2 separate regions of the Homo sapiens genome follow, and region 1 is linked to region 2. Evidence: promoter capture Hi-C in 16 types of primary human blood cells and fetal thymus (Javierre and others, 2016). All regions are on one chromosome and are shown on one strand. The core of a region is centred on a gene start or on the middle of the fragment in contact, and the rest is flanking DNA. Distances in the headings are between cores, read along the strand shown.

Evidence for each region. Contacts are between HindIII fragments. The CHiCAGO score rates a contact against its expected background, and 5 or more counts as called.
Region 1: a contact is called between a fragment that was not itself captured here and the fragment with the promoter of SERINC1 in region 2, in 3 of 17 cell types (M0 macrophages, megakaryocytes and erythroblasts). The highest score is 5.5, in M0 macrophages.

What each region holds. Positions count from the first base shown.
Region 1 is chr6:122,725,045-122,730,215 of GRCh38, forward strand. PKIB (cAMP-dependent protein kinase inhibitor beta) reads left to right here. Exons shown (of 5, transcript NM_181795.3): 5 at 84-1,329. The coding sequence ends at 151. Among named protein-coding and RNA genes, the nearest start is that of FABP7, 52 kb to the right of the region's middle. The HindIII fragment of the contact is 9,461 bases long and covers 1-5,171 here.
Region 2 is chr6:122,469,539-122,475,226 of GRCh38, forward strand. SERINC1 (serine incorporator 1) reads right to left here and starts at 2,269. Exons shown (of 10, transcript NM_020755.4): 1 at 2,161-2,269. The coding sequence starts at 2,199. It also overlaps a transcript of PKIB not described here. RefSeq lists enhancers at 1,919-2,318, 2,369-2,428. The HindIII fragment of the contact is 8,379 bases long and covers 1-4,746 here.

The DNA of each region.
Region 1 (5,171 bases), core at 1,081-3,580, 260 kb after region 2:
AGGAAAAACCAATGGTTTTATTCTAACATAATACAAAATAAATTTCAATATATTCCACATATGAATGGAAATTTTTTTTTCAGATGCAAAAGAGAAAGATGAAAAAACAACACAAGACCAATTGGAAAAGCCTCAAAATGAAGAAAAATGAAGGCTCATAATCTATCAAGAGTGCTGAATTTCTGCATGTTGAAAGACTTAGTGGTTCTGTTTTCTTGAGACATTTAATCTGGTGGTAACTGTGGTAACATTGCAGCCCTAAGCAGCATGTGTATATTAGATAATTGTGTTGTGATGCTACTCACTTTGATTGCAATGATGATGTCCAAGGTAAGCTATTAAAAGGCAGGTTACTTCCAAATCGCACTGAAGGAAAAGGTTAAGAATAATACATGATCACAGAAATGCATACCACTGTCTGTAAACCCAACAAAATTCACTGTTCTCTTTTGGATTTATTTAGCCTGATGTATTTTTAATTCAATTTTTATGGTGATGGGCAAATCATTCTTGGTAAATGTAAATCAAACATGATTGATTTAAAACTTCATGGAATTTGTAGAAAATTATGGACATTTTTGGTGAGAAAGAACAATAGTCAAAACTCACATGGATAGAGTGTGTTTGTTTTTTGCCAAAAATGCCCCAGACTTTTTCCCAAACCTCAAAAACGTCTTGGAAAAATTGTAAAAGTTTGATAACAGAAACATCTTTAGGATATTTTTGTCTGACATATTTTGCTTCTAGTATGTGCCTACTGTGATTTTTTTCATGTGGAAAATGCAAAATTTGTAACAAAATGGTTATATGGAACATGCCTATTAAATGAATTTTACTATCTTCCCTAACTTTGGTCTGTGTATGTGTGTGTGTTTTACTTTAATATGAATTATACAAAATACTAGTTGTTTTACACTCTCTTTTCTTATTCTTAGGGCTTTTGTGTATGTCTGACTTGTTTTTAAATAACTTCCTCAGCAATGCAGACCTTAATTTTTATATTTTTTTAAAGTAGCTAACATAGCAGTAGGCACTTAAGCATTTAGTCAATGATATTGGTAGAAATAGTAAAATACATCCTTTAAATATATATCTAAGCATATATTTTAAAAGGAGCAAAAATAAAACCAAAGTGTTAGTAAATTTTGATTTATTAGATATTTTAGAAAAATAATAGAATTCTGAAGTTTTAAAAATGTCAGTAATTAATTTATTTTCATTTTCAGAAATATATGCATGCAGTTATGTTTTATTTGATTGTTGACTTAGGCTATGTCTGTATACAGTAACCAAATAAACTCTTTCACTATTAAAGAGATTTCTTACTGACACAAGTCTCCTTCATTTTATCTTCAGAAGTAGGCTGAGTAAAAAATGGTGACACATTTTATAGAATGAAGTTAACAGTCTTTGCAATATAAATCACCTCTGGCTTATTATTTAATTGACAGAGCTTACCTTTATATCTTATATACACCAAAGGGGTAGATCTCAAAGAACCTGATTGCTTTAAGTTTTCAAATATAATTTTTTCTTTATTAAATAATCAAAAGTAATATTTTAAGTGTAGCACTAATTTAATATTCAATAACATTTATCACAGCCATTAAAATTATATTTCTAAAAGTTATTTAATGACATGAGGTTTTATAATCAGATAAAGAGGGGTTAGAGTGGAACAGTGGTTTTCAGCATGGATGGGGAAGAAATTTTGCCCCCTAGAGGGCATTTGACAATGTCTGGAGACTTTTTGGCTGCCACAACTGGAGGTGGAAAGCAAGGGAGAAAAGGTGCTACTGTAATGTAGTGGGCAGAGGCTGGGGATACCGCTAAGCTGCTAAGCATCTTACCATTCCACAGGGCAGCCCTGACAGCAAGGATTACCCGGTCATGTGTGTCAACAATGCTGAGGTTGAGACACTCTGGAGTAGAGTTAAACTGTTAAGCATATGGATTTTAAATTCAGATTATCTGGGTTTGAATTCTAGCTCTGCTACTCAGTAGTTGCGTGATCCTGGGCAACTTACATCATGTCTCTAAGTCTCAGTTTTATCCTCTGTGGAATGGTTTTAATAATAGCGCATACTTTATAGGGTGGGTGGAGGCAGTAAATGAGATAGTATATGCAAAACAATTGAATAATGCCTGGCAAAGAATAATTATTCAATAAATATTAGCTATCATCATCATCGTTGTCATATTTATTCAAGATGCTCTTGCCAATACTGTGGTAGTGGAGGTGGTAGGAAGCTCAATTTGTTTATTTGTCTGTCTTCTGCCTTTCTCTGTGACTTCACAAAATCTCTGTGATATCCCCAATGCTTGGTGCTGGGAGAAAACAGGATGGTAGAAATAGACAATTCATGGTAATTACCACATGAATGCTAATTCAATCATGCTAATGGGTGACTGACAGGCCATGAGTATTACCATTTAACAATGAGTCTGCTCACTAGTGTTTTATGACAGTTACTGCAAAAAAATAGAATCTTGAGTCAGTATTTAAATGAGTAATTTGTTCCATGAAAATGTAGAAGAAATAAAGTAACATCGTTCTTGGATCATAGTTTTCTACAATATTTTTCTCATTTAGAAGACCAAAAGTAAAGCCATGTCCCTCCTCATTATTGCTAACAGTTACATATATTCTGAATGATATATATTCTAAATCAATTATTCACTACAATGCACACACAAACGTTCCATTATTTTGTATTACCCAAGGTATCAGGCTTGTTCACTGAGAATATGTGCTAACGAAAATGGTTTATTTTCCCTGAGGAGTCCAGACAAAGGAGAATGAGAGGTCAGTAGCAGTTTAAAGACAACGCTGAATTTGCCTACCAACTTTTTAAAAAATCAAGCTATTTTGAGGAACCTATGGTATTTTGTCATAGCAAGTAGACACTTTTACCAAAGCTATTTATTTGGGACTTATTAAAGAAAGTCTCCTTGCCCATTTTGCCATTGTCTTTGTACAAGGCACTTGCTTTAGTCAATAGCTATGAAGTCTAAATTAACACTGTCAGATAATCAGGCTAAAAGGTGACAATAAAGCTATAAAGCAGCTGTCTGAAAACTTAACTCTGTATAAAGGAGAAAGAACAAAAAGAATCTATTCTGTGTCATGTACCCAGAGATATTTTGTGTTCTGGGTAGAAAAGATTTGAACTTTCTTAAAACGTTAGTGAGTATAAGGGGAGGTGCCCTACTTAGAAAATAAACCACTAGTTTTCCTCAGGTGGCTTGACAACTTGGGCAGATGTTTGGCAAGGGACAGGGGGATAGAGAGGAGCCAGAGGAAAATGAAAATTCTGGTGTTCTATGCCACTGTAGAATGACTATACTTAGTAATAACATATAATTTAAAATAGCTAGAAGGGGCCCTGTGCAGTGGCTCACACCTGTAATCCAGCACTTTGGGAGAGCAAGGTGGGTGGATCACTTGAAGTCAATAATTCAAGACCAGCCTGGCCAACATGGTGAAACCCCGTCTCTACTAAAAATACAAAAATTAGCTGGGTGTAGAAAAATAAAAATTAGCTTGATGTGGTGGCATTGTCCCAGCTACTCGGGAGGCTGAGGCAGGAGAATCACTTGAACCCAGGAGACAGAGTTTGCAGTGGGCCGAGATTGTGCCACTGCACTCCAGCCTGGGCAATAGAGCAAGACTCTGTCTCAGAAAACAAAAACAAATTAAAATAAAATAGCTAGAAGGAGGATGTTGAGCATTCTCAACACAAAGAAATGACAAATGCTTGAGATGATGAATATGCAAATACCATGATCTGACCACTCTAAATTGTATGTATCAAAACATCACTATGTACCCCATGAATATGTATAATTATTATTTGTTAATTAAAAAGTAAAATAAAAAAAGGATATAACCAAAGCTCACTAATCTGTTACCCTGTCTGTGGAGCCTGGCCCCTCAAGTTCAAAGTACAGCTCTGCCATTTGCTCTTATGATTTTGTTCATTTTATTCCTTGTGCTTCCATTTATTCAACATGTAAAATGATAAATTATTATGAGGATTAAGTGAGTGAATATTAGTCATTGATAAGGGCAGTGCCTGGCATACTAGCAAAAACTCATATTATTATTATTTGCCAGAACATAAAGGATGATAAAGACTTTAAGTTGAATGTTCTAGATCTGTTGATTTTTTCCTATGTTATTTGCCAGTATAGATTTCCTTCTATTCTTCTGCTCTTTTCTTTCCGCTAGCAACACCTCCGTGGCTAAAAACAGGACTGATTAATCAGACTGAGTCCCTTTTTTTTTTTTAGTGTTACTGATGACAACTCTCAGAACATTAAAAATCTGCAGCCAGTTAAAAACTGGAAGCGTTGGCTCAAACAAAGGGCTGGGGCAATGTTGTTGTTACTTGTTAAAATCCTAGAATGGATTTCTCAGTGGGCACACATCAACAGAAGTCATCATCATAGGCCGGGCGCAGTGGCTCATGCCTGTAATCCCAGCACTTTGGGAGGCCGAGGCAGGCGGTTCATGAGGTCAGGAGATCGAGATCATCCTGGCTAACATGGTGAAACCCTGTCTCTACTAAAAATACAAAAAAATAGCTAGGCATGGTGGCGGGTGCCTGCAGTCCCAGCTACTTGGGAGGCTGAGGCAGAAGAATGGCATGAACCCAGGAGGCAGAGGTTGCAGTGAGCTGAGATCATGCCACTGCACTCCAGCTGGGGCAACAGAGCAAGACTCCGTCTCAAAAAAAAAAAAATCATCATCATAGCCAAATTTCTTGTGACTGGTGATTACTTAGCACATAGTAGATCCTTTTGAATCTTCATAAAAAATCATATAAAATAGTTGTTAATGTTTCTCATTTTTACAGATGAAGAAAATGGATTCAGAGAGTATCTTTGAGAGTTCACACAAGGAAGTGCAACAGTGACTTAGGACAGGGCTCTCAGAGTTTGGATGTGCACAGCCTCTCTTGTACCAAAAGTCCCCTCTTCCCCAAACCAGCTCATTCATGAGCATATTAGATTTGTCTGAATTTACTCAAAATTCTTAGGGAAATTTAAAAGTTGTATAAGAAGAATAACATATGAGCCAAAATGAGCACTGATATCTCAAAACAGCAATTTTATTTATTTATTTGGCTTTATTCTTTCATTAACTCATATTTTACCTCATTCCAGAA
Region 2 (5,688 bases), core at 1,019-3,518:
ATTTTTGTTTTTTTGTTTTGTTTTGTTTTGTTTTCTGAGATGGAGTCTTGCTCTGTTGCCCAGGCTGGAGTGCAGTGGCATGATCTCAGCTCACTGCAACCTCCGTCTCCCAGTTCAAGCAATTCTCCTGCCTCAGCCTCCCGAGTAGCTGGGACTACAGGCATGTGCCACCATACCCAGCTATTTTTTTTTGTATTTTTAGTAGAGACGGGGTTTCACCATATTGACCAGGCGGTCTCCCACTCCTGACATCAAGTGATCCATCCACCTCATCCTCCCAAGTGCTGGGATTACAGGCGTGAGCCACTGCAGCAGGCTCTGAGTGTTACTTTTGAAAAGCTGAATAAATTTTAATTTCATCAAAACCTCTAAGTAAATGAGCACATTAACTGTTAAGAATGTGGAAGAGATGGTCCCCTTCAATGACTATTGGCCTGCAGTAAAATCAAACAATTAATGAATAGAGACAGAGGCACAAGGAAGAAAAGGGAAAAAGATTACTGAAACTGCAAACAATAAAATAAATTCCAAACTGAGCACGGTAGCACCTGCCTGTAGTACCAGCTACCTGGGAGGCTGAGGTTACACTTAAGCCCAGCAGTTCCAGGCTGCAGTTCACTACGACCATCCCCTGCACTTCAGCCCGGCCAATACACTTAGACCCCCATCTCTAAAAAACTGCCTCACTGCTTCTACCTTTTTAATGTACTTCGCTATTAACACAGAAACTAAAAGGCAGGGTCAATTTTATCACGGACATTCTTCTAATCAATAAAGGTGGCGATCTATTTTGTAAAAGGGAAAACATGTATCTCATCTTTTAAATCTCTATTATATACAAAAAACTACAGCACGCCCACTTCATAACTGGACAAGATACGACATTACAAATTGAATTGCATAACATCTTCCAATAAAAAACCGATGAAAACAATCTTATATGATAATCAATTATCAGTTTTCAAAACTGTTTATCACACTAAATATGCCTCTTTTGTATAAAAGTCAATAATTAAACTCTCTAATATCTTGAGATAAAATATTCCAGGCTTCCGTGCAAGAAGAAATACCATATAATCAAAAGAACAGACTGGCTGGAGTAACAATCCCCACATTATTATTTGATTAAAATTCAACATTTTTAGTTCAAGACATATCAAAACCTTTAAGAGTATATATAACGGAATCATTTGGGAAGTCAGAAAAGCAATTGTTAGAAACAGAATTAACAAATTCCAGACTAAAGAAAAGTGATTTGAGTCCAAATACCTCGCCTAAAATTACAAATATCTTTATTAACTGCACTGCCAATGTTTTGCCTACTATTTTGGAGGGGGCAGAGATTATCTTAAATAAACTGAAATTTGTGCCACACGGACCAAAGTCTTGCCACTATACTGAAAATAGTTTTACTCTAACAACTCTTTAATGAAAATGCAATGTACAGCTAATTAAGCATGAAATTTCAGATGACACACGCATGTTTTGTGCCTAAAGACAAAATTGTCATTAGGCACAAGGCATGCGTGTGTCATCTGAAATTTCAATTTTAAGTTGAAATCTGAAATTGACACTTCAAACAGTTACGGCAGAGCTATGACTATTTGTTTCAAAAACAATATTACTACATTAGCATTACTGCCAGGCGGTTCCAAATGACGACAGGCACTTTTTAATCATAATCTGCGCCACTGAACAAAGAGGGCGACATGAATCCAGGAACGACAGTGCGGCAGTCTGAGGTCGCCAGGAAAGAGATGACAACAGAGTGGGTACCCCACCGAAGGAAAGGGGCAAAGACCTTTGTAGAGATGGCCTGCGCAGATACAAACAAAACCACGAAAAGGGACCTCAAAGAATGGGAGACAGCGTTCACGAAGCAGGGGTGGGGGAGGGGCCCTATTCTAGTTCTCTTCCTCAATTTGAGTCATCTTCCCATCGCCACTAAACCTTACGGCCAGTGATCAGTTCTTCGCAAGACCCAAAGCTCTGAAGCTGAGTCTGAGTGACGAGAGGAGACGGGAAGAAAACGGGGACAGAGAGGGCACTCCCTGTTGGGTGGGGCACCACATTCCCGCCGGGCTCACCCAGCCCCGGCTCGGATCGCCTTCTCTTTGGTCTCTCACACTAGCACCCCAGAGGCCGCAAAAAGCACCTTACCCAGCTCGCCATGGAGCACAGCCCCAGGACGCTCCCCATCTCCACAACGTCACAAGAGCAGCGGATACAGACAAGATGGAGACAGCTTCTTTCTCGCCTTTCCGAGATTATTTACTATCTGCGAGACACTTCCGGACGCACAGCGCAACCCGCCCCTCAGCCTCGCGTCACTTCCTTCCAGGCCTGGGTAGGATAAAACACGGAGCGCGCAGCGCTGAGACTGCGCATGCGCGTCACTAGACGACACGGCTGTCTTCTTTCCTGGAGAATTTCTCAAGGACTGCTGGCTGGAAACTTAACGGCTAATGTGGATCTGACCGTAGTTTGCCAAATTAAGAAAACGGTGTGAGCAAAACCCACCTTTACCTACCATGCACTTGCATTTGGGCATTAGTAGAGAACAGAGCTGAGGTGGTGGTTGACGTTTTGCCCTCCTTCATCTGAGGAACCTCTCTGCTTTTTAGGGGATTGCTTCCTCTTTCTCAGTCTTTGTCCGTCCTAACTCCACTTATTTCCCATTTTTCCCACGTTTGCATCCTGTTTTGCTCTTGCGTTTGCAACGTATTCCTGCAGCCCGCTGCCCGGAACAAGTTTTATTGGGATATTTATATTCATCTGTGTGCTTCAGTTTCTCTGTATCATTTCTGTTTGCTATTGACTTATATTTTAATTTCTTATGCTATTAAGATGTTACAAGAAATTTGCACGTTAAAATTATTTTTAATTAGTTAGATAAGACATTATCAAACTCAAACATTGATTTCGAATGTCATGAGCTGTTGAGGCATGTGGAACCCTTGCATATTAGGTGATGATGCACATCTGCAGGGAATGCATTCCTATAAAAGTTCCAGTTATTTTTTTAGAGTTATTTGTTCTTGAAAATATTCTGGGAAACAGCTCAAACTTGAAATAGTCATTCCCATAACTAATAATAAGAAAGTGTTGTAAAATCTACAAAAATTGCATGGGTCGAGGTGGGGTAAACACCTAAGAATCTGGAAGAATGTCAGAATCCCTACTCCTAGTTATTGTAACCACTAAGGGACAATCTTGCTTTATTCTTCTTTGCCTTATCTGTGGTTTTGTAGACCACTCTTAAAGCAAAGTATTATAATAGAGCATCCATAAGGTTTAAAGAATTGTGGAAATGCTTGTAATCCCAGAACTTTGGGAGGCTGAGGCAGGCGGGTCACAAGGCCAGGAGTTCAAGACCAGCCTGGCCAGCATGGTGAAACCCCATCTCTACTAAAAATACAAAAAATTAGCCGGGCATGGTGGCACGCGCATGTAATCCCAGCTACTCGGGAGGCGAGGCAGGAGAACTGCTTGAACCCGGGAGGCAGAGGTTGCAGTGAGCCGAGATTGGGCCACTGCACTCCAGCCTGGGCTGCAGAGCGAGACTCCGTCTCAAAAAAAAAGAATAGTGGAAATGGAAATTACAAACCTAACAATATTTTTAATTATGCTAAACTTAATACGTTATTTATGGGAGAAGAGAATCCTAGTATCTCAAGTCCTTAAACTTTTCAAAGTACCAGAGAAGGAGACAAAAAACACTTATATGTGAGTAACTTTAAGGTCGTAAAGAATATGTTTATTAGCCAAATGGAGAATGGGTCTCTTAAAATTTAAATTTGCACAGATTCTTGTCTCTTGCTCCATTTAAGAGGGTTTCTGAGATATTCATAAGTTCTTGCACTATTCAATAGAGTTTTTTCACCTGAGATATTCAGAGTTAAATACAAAAGTCATATTAATCTTTCTGGAATGTAACACTTGGCCTTGAAATACATTAAAAAAAATTTACTTTTATTTAACCTGTAGGCTATGTGGAGTGGAATTTGCTCACTTAAGTTATTATATATACAACATTAATTGGACACGACAGTATATATAGACTATTTTATTCGTTAGAAGAGTCTTCGACACCAGTCTCATTTTTCTCTTTGCCAACTATGAAAGAAAATTGAAATGATGACTTTTTCAAATTTCAACCCAAACACAGCTCAAAGCATAGTTTTCTCAATATATACCAGCTATTAGTAGGAGCACCCATTTCTCCAGGTGACTTCCTGTAGCACACGTATAACTTACAATGCCAAAATTCAAATTAGTCTAAGTAAGTACGTTAGTAAAAAACATTCTATCTAGCTGAGCATGGTGGCTCACACCCATTATCTTAGCACTTTAGGTGGCTGAGGCGGGCAGATCACCTGAGGTCAGGAGTTCCAGACCAGCCTGGCCAACATGGCGAAAACCTGTCTCTACTAAAAATACAAAAATTAGCAGGGCATGGTGGCACACCTCTGTAATCCCAGCTACTCAGGAGGCTGAGGCTGGAGAATTGCTTGAACCCAGGAGGCAGAGGTTGCAGTGAGCTGGGATCGTGCCACTGCACTCCGGCCTAGGTGATAAGAGCAAAACTCTGTCTCAAAACAAACAAACAAACAAAAAAGCCATGCTATCTAATAACTCAGTTCTCTGACTTGATTAAGGGCTAGTATGCCAAAAAACAAAAAAATTGGAATATTGATTTTTTTGAGAATGTTACTAAGTAGCCATGCTGGAAGAAGTTTTCAGATAAGCTTGGATGGTACTGCCTGTTACATTCTTCTCTTGTGACTGATGTTGCATATTAGCATGTTCAATTCCTTCACTCCTAATGTTTTCTAAACTTGACCTTAAAAAATCTTTTTTTCTTATGAAATGTATTAATATGCACTGTAAGTGTTCCATGAAATATAGTTTAAGAAATACTGATGGAGGGAAGGATGGACTTCATAGCCTTCTGGCAGCCCTCCTAGAATATCTTTTCTCATAATTAAACTTTTGATCCATATGTGGCATCAGAGAGCTGAAGGTTATGTTTGTTGTCAAGAATCAGAGCATGAATGCTCTGTGTTGTCAATTAAGGACAAGACATAGACTTTAACATTCAAATAAATGGTATGTAAAATTAATAGTCTCTTAGGGAAATTCAGGAGAAAGACCAAAATACTTGTCAGAATAGACATGCACAGAAATGGGCTGGGAGATCTGTGGAGTACTATAGACAGGCTTAAGGTTTTCCTTAGAAGATAGTCCAGGTTCATTCTTACATATAGGTAAATGAATTCTCCCAGATAAACTATAGTTGTGACTATTGTACCCTGAGAAAAATGTAAAGCAGGATTACGAAGCTTATCCTAGCCATAGTAAAAATTTCAATAATGGATTCACAAAAATCAATATTAACCAATGTAATTTCAGAATGATTTAGGTACAAAATTTAGGTTTATGTAAGTCACTCTCAAATATAGATTTGTCAGTTATCAGTCATTTTGGTTTGTTGTTGTTCTTGTTATTGTTTTGAGACGTAGGCTTGCTCTATTGCCCAGGCTGGAGTTCAGTGGCCTGATCTCGGCTCACTGCAACCTCCACCTCCCAAATTCCAGCGATTCTCCTGCAACCGCTGCCTGGAGTGCAGTGGCCTGATCTCAGCTCACTGCAACCTCAGCCTCCTGAGGAGCTGGGATTACAGGCGTG